Regions from separate parts of the Homo sapiens genome. Here region 2 is linked to region 1. Evidence: promoter capture Hi-C in human tissues and cell types (Jung and others, 2019). All regions are on one chromosome and are shown on one strand. Each heading gives the region's core, a stretch centred on a gene start or on the middle of the fragment in contact. The rest is flanking DNA. Distances are from core to core; before and after follow the strand shown. Region 1 overlaps GNAI2 (G protein subunit alpha i2). Region 2 holds the start of RASSF1 (Ras association domain family member 1).

Region 1 (4,838 bases), core at 1,296-3,795:
AACGGATGCCTGAACAGACCAACAGACTCCACACCTCCCTCCCGCCAGTCTCTGGCACTCGGCTGCCTCCAGCGGCTTCCAGGGGTTCACAGTGCCCAAAGGGGAGCACTACCAAGCAGGGCCTGGCTTCCTACTGCCAAGTCAGAGATCTCTGTGTTAGGGAAACTGAGGCCTCAGGTCCTGCCCACACATGGGAAAGTCTTTCTGGGGCAAGGTGTGTCTCCCTCAGTGGGGCCCTTTCCACTGCACAGAGGGAAACTCAGGCACCGGGTGAGGAAGGCTGGCCTGATATAAAGGAGGCCCCAGACCTGTTCATCGCTGGCGCCTCAGGCCCCAGGTACCGCCTGTGCAGGAGCCAGGAGGTGCTGGACAAGACGCGGATCACGCGGAGCTGGGCCATTTGGCACCGTCTCCCTGGAGGCCTCTTCATTTCAGGCATCCCTCCGCTGTTCCCAAGGCACCTGAATGACCTCTTTTCCCTTCTGATTCATGGCGGTGGACTCTGGGAAAGATAACGGGAGCCTAGGCCTCATCTATGAAATGTACCCCTTGAGGGAGGGTGCCAAACCCAAGGCCTGCCCTGAGTAGCCTCTTCAAAGTCACCCCAAACTGCCTCAGGGCCCAACCCAAGCCAGCAGCTGTCCTTGTGTCCACAGGCCAGGAGACCATGCTAAGAATCACGGCACTGGCGGGGCGGGGTGGCTCACGCCTGTATTCCCAGCACTTTGGGAGGCTGAGGTGGGCGGATCACCTGAGGTCAGGAGTTCGAGACCAGCCTGACCAACATGGAGAAACCCTGTCTCTACTAAAAATACAAAATTAGCCGGGCATGGTGGCACATGCCTGTAATCCCAGCTACTCTGGAGGCTGAGGCAGGAGAATCACTTAAACCTGGGAGGCGGAGGTTGTGGTGAGCCGAGATTGCATCACTGCACTCTAGCCTGGGCAACAAGAGCGAAACTCAGTCTCAGAAAAAAAAAAAAAAAATCACAGCATCACAGATTCTAGTGCTGGATACAGAGAGGGAAGAGGACAGTCTGAGGTCTCATGGTGAGGAACTGGACCCTCTGGGACCCACAGTCTTGGGTGGCCATGAGGATGCACGGGTCTCTGCTCTGTGCATGGCTTCATGGCCCAGAGAGGCTTGGACGCTTCTGCTCTGGCTCTCCTAAGCCTTCCTCAGCCCCCTCAGTCCCTTACGGCCTGGCCTGGCAACACAGCAGAACCCCTAGGAACCCCTACAAGAGAGGGCAAGGCCCCACTAGGCCACAGCACTGAGATTCGGAGGCCAAGGAGCAAGAGGAACCAGCCTCAACAACTATCATGCAGTCATCAGCCAACACCATGGCCACATTCTACCACCACACAGTACCGTACGTGCACCCAGCACTGAGCCTGTGCTCACAGTGCAGCCCTAAGGAACATGCTTTCATTTCACTCCTCTGGACAATTCCCAGTCTCAGAGGCCCTCACCATGGACTTCAATAGCTTCTGAGCCTTCCCCAGGCTTGGTCTCAGTCTAAGACTGGGGCTTATGGGAGAACAAGCATAATATTAGGGAAAGAATGAAGTCCTAAATTGCCAGCTATAACTTGAGCATCACTGTGAGAGGATACGGACTAGGAGAAAAAGTGGGAAGTCAAAAGGTGCAGCTGCAGCCGGGCGCAGTGGCTCACACCTGTAATCCCAGCACTCTGGGAGGCCGAGGCAGGCGAATCACTTGAGGTCAGGAGTTCGAGACCAGCCTGACCAACATGGTGAAACCCCGTCTCTATTAAAAATACAAAAATTAGTTGGGCGTGGTGGCACGTACCTGTAGTCACAGCTACTCAGGAGGCTGAGGCAGGAGAATCGCTTGAACCCAGGAGGCGGAGGTTGCAGTGAGCCGAGATCATGCCACTGCACTCCAGCCTGGGTGACAGAGTGAGACTCCATCTCAAAAAAAAAAAAAAAAAAAAAGGAGTGGAGGGGGTCCCCCATGACCACATGGCTGTAGAAAGCTTCATACACAGAGTCTTGGGTCCCACCTTCCAGGACAGACAGCTCCCTTTCCGCCTCCTAAAAGAAGAATTGAGGCCCGAAAGCCAGGGCCCATAGGCACAGGCAGAACACACACGCACCCACACCGTCTGCCTGCTGTCCTGCCTGATCCGTTACTTCCAGCCAGCACAGACTCCCAAAGGGCCATGGCAGTTGGAGGCAGGCGCTTAATCACTACATGGGTCATGTCCTGACATCTCTGTTCCCTGTTTAAGTGCATAAAGTCCCTGAGCTTCAGTTTGTCCATCAGTGAAATGGGTGTAATATCAGTCCCAGCCTCACAGGATTAAATATGACAAGATAATGAAGAATTCAGCTCCACACAACAGTCAAGGCTCAATCAGAGACAGCTGTGGTTATCACCTGAGGGGAAACAGGCCCAGTGAATGCAGCCCTAGACCCAGTGAGTGGGTGCTGGTAGGGGAGAATCCTTAGGCTGAGGCCAGGGATCCTTTGTCCGCCCCCCAGCAGGGGAAACCCAGAGTGAGCTCATCTCGGGGCTGTTGCTGCATTTCCAGGCATTCATCTCAGCCTGTGGCTGGCCTTCCGGCTTTGGAGAGCAATGGCCGCTCGGGAATCTAAGAGCAGCCCTCTGCCTTCCTGCTAGCCCTCCCGCCAGCGTCCTTCTCCCAGCCACAACTTCCTGTGGCCAAAGAAGGGGCCTGGAATCCTTCTCGAAGGCACCACCTTCTCTGGGATCTTGGGCCCGATGGTTGCTGGGGTGGGACAAGGTACAGAGCTACCTGGACTGGCTCCAACTCAGTGACCGCCACTAGAATGGCCCACAGGAGTGCAAAGATAAGCCTGGGCAGGTGTTCACCTCCTAGACCCTTCCAGTTGGCAAAGCCCTGGGGGGCCCTTGGGCTCTCACCCCCACCCTAGCACCAGGCAGCCCTCTGGCCTCTTCCTCTTTTGGGCTCCTCCTCCCCCAGCTGCTTCCTCCTTTTCCTCTGGTGTGGACACCACTTCCCCGAGAGGCCCAGCCCTGCCCTGCCATGTCGTGCAGACTTCATTACCTCCTCCTCCCGCCGGGGGCACACACAGTAGGTGCTGCCATCACCTCCTTTGCATATCCTGAGGCTGTCAGCAGCCTTGGAGCCCCCAGATTCCTCCAAGCCATAAGGATATCTTCTCCCCAACAAGGCTGAGATGACCCCACCTTTAGGCCTTTGCTCAGACTGGTGTGGTGCTGCCTTTCAAGCCTTGTAAATGTGCACAGAGGCCGGCACAGAAGAACCAGCCCAGCAAATGTTTGGTTATTCCAGAAAGATTCTTCCTCCCCAGCCACCAAGAGCAGCCACAGCCCCAAGAAGTAACATCAGGGTGAGGGTGGGGTTGGGGTTTAGTAAGAACGAGAGCTTCAAGCTAGAAGGGCTGGGTGGGGCTGGGCAGACGGGGTTCCACCCTGCACCTGTAGCTGAGGGAAGGGCTGCCTGAGAGCATCAGGTACCAGGGACACCATCAAAGGGCCCAATCCTTTGCCTTCCCCAAAGCACCTTGCAGAGCACTCTTAGGCAGGGTGTATCAGCAGTGGCCTGGCCAGAACCTGCTGACCCCTTCCCCTCCTCGCTCAACTCCTAGGCTGGGATTCCTGGCCTGAGATGCTGGGAAGATGAGACTACTCCCTGGCCTGTACCTTGCCCCCATCTGCCCGGTCCTGCCTCCCCCCACAGCACAACGGGATGTAGGGGAGGCAGCACTCAGGCTCTGGGGTGACAGTCTCCTCCTCTGCTGTGGGTGGGGTGGGGGGAGTCCCTGGTTCCTCAGTGGCTAAGAGCTTGGGTGGACAAAGCTTCCTCCATCCTGTTCCCGCCAAGTGAATGGGTGGCTTTTAGAGACAGACTGAGAGAGTCACAGCCAGGGACCAAGAACTAAGATCAACGGCAGAGTATACAGGACCTGTGTGTCTGCCTGTGGCCCAAGTAGCCCCAAGTGCACCTACTGCCCCACCCCCTGCAGTGCTGGAGGCCTAGGGACCTTGCTGGGACCTGACCACACCCCACCCTCAGCACTACCTGCTGCCACTTGCCAGGCAAACTGATGTTCAAGGGCCTGGGACATCAGTGATGGCACTCAGTGACCCTACCTCTCAGGCCACCCAGGGCCAACCGCTGACAAGCTGCCCAGGGCCAAAGGGGTCCCGGACCATCCCCAGGCCCCATCCAGCAGCCTAGGCTCTGACACATAGTGGGTGGTGTGATGCTGCCTCAGGGCTTCTGACATGGAAGCCTGTGTCCCGCAACTGGTTTGACTTCCACCTCCTGCCACAGCAGCGCGGCTCATTCTCTCTGTCCTCACACCTGCTCTGCCCTCTGTCTGGGGTTCCTCTCCCCAACCCGCCTGGGATGCCCCCAGCTGAGCTCCAGCTGCCCTGATTCACCTAGTCTCTCAGCTCAGAGGTATCCCTTAAAGGACCTAGTCTCACTCCTACCCTAGAGGTATGACCTCATGTTGGCTGCACTGACACTGGCGTGAGAGGCAGGGGCTGAGCCTAGCAGAACTGGGCAGGATGCAGGCAGAGGGGGTCAGCTATAGCTTGGACCCCTGTTCACTCCTTAGTGTGGGAGCTCTATCCCTGCCTGCTCCTGCAGACAAAGCCCCGACAAGCCTGGGGGAGGGGTGGGAAGAAGAGACTCAGAGGCCCAAGCCGCCCCGCCCCCCATTCAAGTGCTAATGAGCTCCAGCAGTGAAGGAGAGGGCTGGGGTAGAGTGTAGGGGCTGGAGGCCAGCCTGGGTGGGTACTGGCCCACCTGGCACCCAGGGCCCTACCACATCTCCAAACCTAGACCCCCAGAGGT
Region 2 (4,295 bases), core at 1-2,500, 97 kb before region 1:
TGCAGAGTTTCCTGGCCCATCTGACCCTAACTGAAACCCAGCCTCCTAAGAAGGACCTGGTGTTGGAACAGGTAGGCACTGGAAAGTTAGCTGCTCAGGACCACTGTCCCACTTTACCAGCACCTTCCTGCCACTCTCCACTTCTCTCTCCTAGATCCCAGAAATCTGGGAGCGGCTGGAGCGAGAAAACAGAGGCAAGTGGCAGGCAATTGCCAAGCACCAGCTCCAGCATGTGTTCAGCCCCTCAGAGCAGGACCTGCGGCTGCAGGCGCGAAGGTAAGGCCTGTGGAAATGGCAGGGAGGGTGGAGGGGATGCAGGAGGCATGGATGTGGGTGGGGTGCCCCCACCTTCCAGGGCCAGTCAGACCTTCCTGACTTTCCCCCAGGTGGGCTGAGACCTACAGGCTGGATGTGCTAGAGGCAGTGGCTCCAGAGCGGCCCCGCTGTGCTTACTGCAGTGCAGAGGCTTCTAAGCGCTGCTCACGATGCCAGAATGAGTGGTATTGCTGCAGGTGAGGGTATCCTAGAACCTTGGACCTCTAAGCCCTACTCCCACATCCCCCACATGCATTGCCATCCTCAATACCCACCTGCCTGCAGGGAGTGCCAAGTCAAGCACTGGGAAAAGCATGGAAAGACTTGTGTCCTGGCAGCCCAGGGTGACAGAGCCAAATGAGGGCTGCAGTTGCTGAGGGCCGACCACCCATGCCAAGGGAATCCACCCAGAATGCACCCCTGAACCTCAAGATCACGGTCCAGCCTCTGCCGGAGCCCCAGTCTCCGCAGTGGAGAGCAGAGCGGGCGGTAAAGCTGCTGACCGATCTCCCTCCTCCTCACCCCAAGTGAAGGCTCGAGACTTCCTGCCCCACCCAGTGGGTAGGCCAAGTGTGTTGCTTCAGCAAACCGGACCAGGAGGGCCAGGGCCGGATGTGGGGACCCTCTTCCTCTAGCACAGTAAAGCTGGCCTCCAGAAACACGGGTATCTCCGCGTGGTGCTTTGCGGTCGCCGTCGTTGTGGCCGTCCGGGGTGGGGTGTGAGGAGGGGACGAAGGAGGGAAGGAAGGGCAAGGCGGGGGGGGCTCTGCGAGAGCGCGCCCAGCCCCGCCTTCGGGCCCCACAGTCCCTGCACCCAGGTTTCCATTGCGCGGCTCTCCTCAGCTCCTTCCCGCCGCCCAGTCTGGATCCTGGGGGAGGCGCTGAAGTCGGGGCCCGCCCTGTGGCCCCGCCCGGCCCGCGCTTGCTAGCGCCCAAAGCCAGCGAAGCACGGGCCCAACCGGGCCATGTCGGGGGAGCCTGAGCTCATTGAGCTGCGGGAGCTGGCACCCGCTGGGCGCGCTGGGAAGGGCCGCACCCGGCTGGAGCGTGCCAACGCGCTGCGCATCGCGCGGGGCACCGCGTGCAACCCCACACGGCAGCTGGTCCCTGGCCGTGGCCACCGCTTCCAGCCCGCGGGGCCCGCCACGCACACGTGGTGCGACCTCTGTGGCGACTTCATCTGGGGCGTCGTGCGCAAAGGCCTGCAGTGCGCGCGTGAGTAGTGGCCCCGCGCGCCTACGAGAGCGGAAGGGGCAGCCAAGGGGCAGCGCAGTCGCCGCGGGTCAAGTCGCGGCAGAGGGGGTCGGCGGGGACAGCTCCCGAGGACTAGGTCCGTTACTTTCGCCCCATCGCTGAAGAGTGCGCGAAAATGGTTTATCCCTTGTCGCACTCCACTCGTATCTGGGCCACAGATGAGCAGAGGTGGCTGCTTATATGTAAAAATACGCTGATTTTAAGTTTCTTATCTTTAAAATGCCTTGGCCCTTCTTGAGAAAGGGTTTGTGCCTACTGTCCTCGGAGTCCATCTTCCCAGGCTTGCCTCTTCTCAAACACTCATGACCCCCTCCAGAACCTTTAGGGTGAAGGGAAATTACCACCTATGGGAGGGAGCCTGGAAAAATTTAGAACCTTTGGTGGGCCCCCTGCAAGCAGGAGTTTTGTTGAGTCTTTATTTAGCAAACACCCTTTTCTGACCCAGTGAATCAGATGCTAAAATATGCACGCAGCCACACACCCAGCAGTCCTTCTGCACCCCTGGGAATCGCCAGCAAGCAAAGGTTGCTCTCCCCTGGGTAGACACCAGCTGGAATCACCAGGGGTGCTTTTACAGTCCTCCCCGCTAGCCTGGATCCCACCGCAGACCTGTTGAATCAACTGCTGGGAGTGGACCCTAGGCATCAGTAAATTTTAAAAACTCCCCAAATTATTGTAACATGGAGTCTGGGTTGAGCATCACTGCTCTGGCCTATTTAGGAACTTGTGGATGGATAGTGTCCCAGGTCTGTGTGTGCATGGAGACCCTCTCATCCGGTACAAGAGGACATCACAAATTCAGCTGGGGGGAGCACAAAGTTGTGACAGAATGCAAAGAATGAACAAGGGGCCGAGCGCGGTGGCTCATGCCTGTAATCCCAGCACTTCGGAAGGCGGAGGCGGGTGGATCACCTGAGGTCAGGAGTTCAAGACCAGCCTGGCCAACATGGTGAAACCTCATGTCTACTAAAAAATAAAAAAAAATGAGCCAGGCGTAGTGGCGGGTGCCTGTAATCCCAGCTACTCGGGAGGCTGAGGTGGGAGAATTGCTTGAACACAGGAGGCGGAGGTTGCAGTGAGCCGAGATCGTGCCACTGCCCTCCAGCCTTGGCGACAGAGTGAGACTCTGTCTCAAAAAAAAAAAAAAAAAAAAAAAGAACAAGGCTGGGACATTGCAGCGTTCTCAAAGAGAAATAAAGTAGCCATGGAGATAAGAAGCAGGATGATTTGGGCATGTTTATCAGAGGTAGAGACAAGGGAGAAATCAAAGATAAGTTTGGGCTTTTGTCTCCAGTAACTGGGAGCCTAGTGGCCATTTTTGCTGCAAAGAGGAAGCTGGGCAAGTGTAGCAGTGAGGCTGAAGAAAAGGGAATTAAATTTTGGCCATGTTCACTTGAAACGTCTTTTAGACATCCTAGTGAAGGTACTGGCACGGAGGATCTAGTCTGAGGGTTTAGGTCAGTGTTTCAGCCGTGGATCTGGGGCAGATGAATGTAGACAGACCAGGCCAGTGATCAGGACTGAGCCCAGACTTCATCGTGAGATATGGAAGTTGAGTCAGAATCTGCAAAGGAGCTGAGCAGGAGCTGCAGGGGGTAGGAGGAAAACTGGGAGAGTGTAGCCCCTGGGAGTCAAAGGGAGCAAGCTTCAAATGATGCTGAGGGGGTGAGAATGGAGAATGGAACACTGGATTCCATTTGGTAGTACACAGATCGCTGAGGACCCTGTCCCGGGCAGTTTCCTGGAGGAAGAGGCAAGCCTGGCTGGAGTGGGTAGAGGGGAGAGTGAAGGCGAAGGATTAGAGTGTATAGAGACCAGTGTCTTGGTCTGAGGGGAGTAGAGACAGGTGACAACCACAGGGCAGACGTAGGTTAAAGGTGTTTAGTTTTTCCTTCAAGTAAATGGGCAGATGTATTCCATATACGTTCCCAGTGAAGGGCCGGGTGCGGTGGCTCAAGCCTGTAGTCCCAGCACTTTGGAAGGCCGAGGCGGGTGGATCACCTGAGATCAGGAGTTTGAGACCAGCCTGGCTAACATGGTGAAACCCCGTCTCTACTAAAAATACAAAAATTAGCTGGGCATGGTGGCGGGCGCCTGTAATCCTAGGTACTCAGGAGGCTGAGGCAGAAGAATCGCTTGAACCCAGGAGGCGGAGGTTGCGGTGAGCCGAAATCGCGCCATTGCACTCCAGCCTGGGTGACAAAAGCAAGACGCAGTTTTTTGTTGTTGTTTTTTTAATTGCCAATGAGGAAAGGGGAAGTTCTGTGCTAGGCGATAGAGATCCAACTGTTGAGCAGGCCTCTCTGCCTGTGGCCTTCCGGCCGGTTTCCAGACGCCCAGGTGGCCAACATTAGAGTCCGCGTAGCAGTGTGAGGTAACCCACTGAGATAGGTCGGGCCTGCGGAGCCTGGCGAGCAGCGGCCCTCTCCCTGGGGCTTCCCTTCAATCTCCGGGACATTTCCCCGACCTGGAGCTCCTCCGCCTCACCGCCAGGCCTCTCTGCAGATTGCAAGTTCACCTGCCACTACCGCTGCCGCGCGCTCGTCTGCCTGGACTGTTGCGGGCCCCGGGACCTGGGCTGGGAACCCGCGGTGGAGCGGGACACGAACGTGGTGAGCGCGGGGCCGAGGGCGTATGGGAAGGGCGAGGATGGGCAGGCCACAGTGCAGGCATTCTCGAGGGCTGCCTGGGTGCCGCGCGCAAGGAGCGTTCTAATTGCCGATTTC

The links. Contacts are between HindIII fragments. The study calls those that stand out against the background at their distance.
Region 2: the fragment with the promoter of RASSF1 here is called in contact with a fragment that was not itself captured in region 1 in 2 of the 25 tissues and cell types used here (dorsolateral prefrontal cortex and spleen).

The regions. Positions count from the first base shown.
Region 1 is chr3:50,241,147-50,245,984 of GRCh38, reverse strand. All of the region lies in intron 1 of GNAI2 (G protein subunit alpha i2), which reads right to left. Among named protein-coding and RNA genes, the nearest start is that of GNAI2, 7.4 kb to the right of the region's middle. RefSeq lists enhancers at 1-346, 1,966-2,575, 2,508-2,867, 2,576-3,186, 3,158-3,297 and 1 more and a silencer at 4,398-4,447. The HindIII fragment of the contact is 4,121 bases long and covers 485-4,605 here.
Region 2 is chr3:50,337,791-50,342,085 of GRCh38, reverse strand. It overlaps RASSF1 (Ras association domain family member 1), which reads left to right and starts at 1,250. Exons shown (of 6, transcript NM_007182.5): 1 at 1,250-1,530; 2 at 4,075-4,181. The coding sequence starts at 1,281. ZMYND10 (zinc finger MYND-type containing 10) reads left to right here. Exons shown (of 12, transcript NM_015896.4): 9 at 1-71; 10 at 155-276; 11 at 387-512; 12 at 601-974. The coding sequence ends at 676. RASSF1-AS1 (RASSF1 antisense RNA 1) reads right to left here. Exons shown (of 1, transcript NR_109831.1): 1 at 3,786-4,295. RefSeq lists enhancers at 499-1,321, 1,322-2,145, 3,712-3,801, 3,882-4,141, 3,969-4,295 and a silencer at 991-1,510. The HindIII fragment of the contact is 7,648 bases long and covers 1-4,295 here.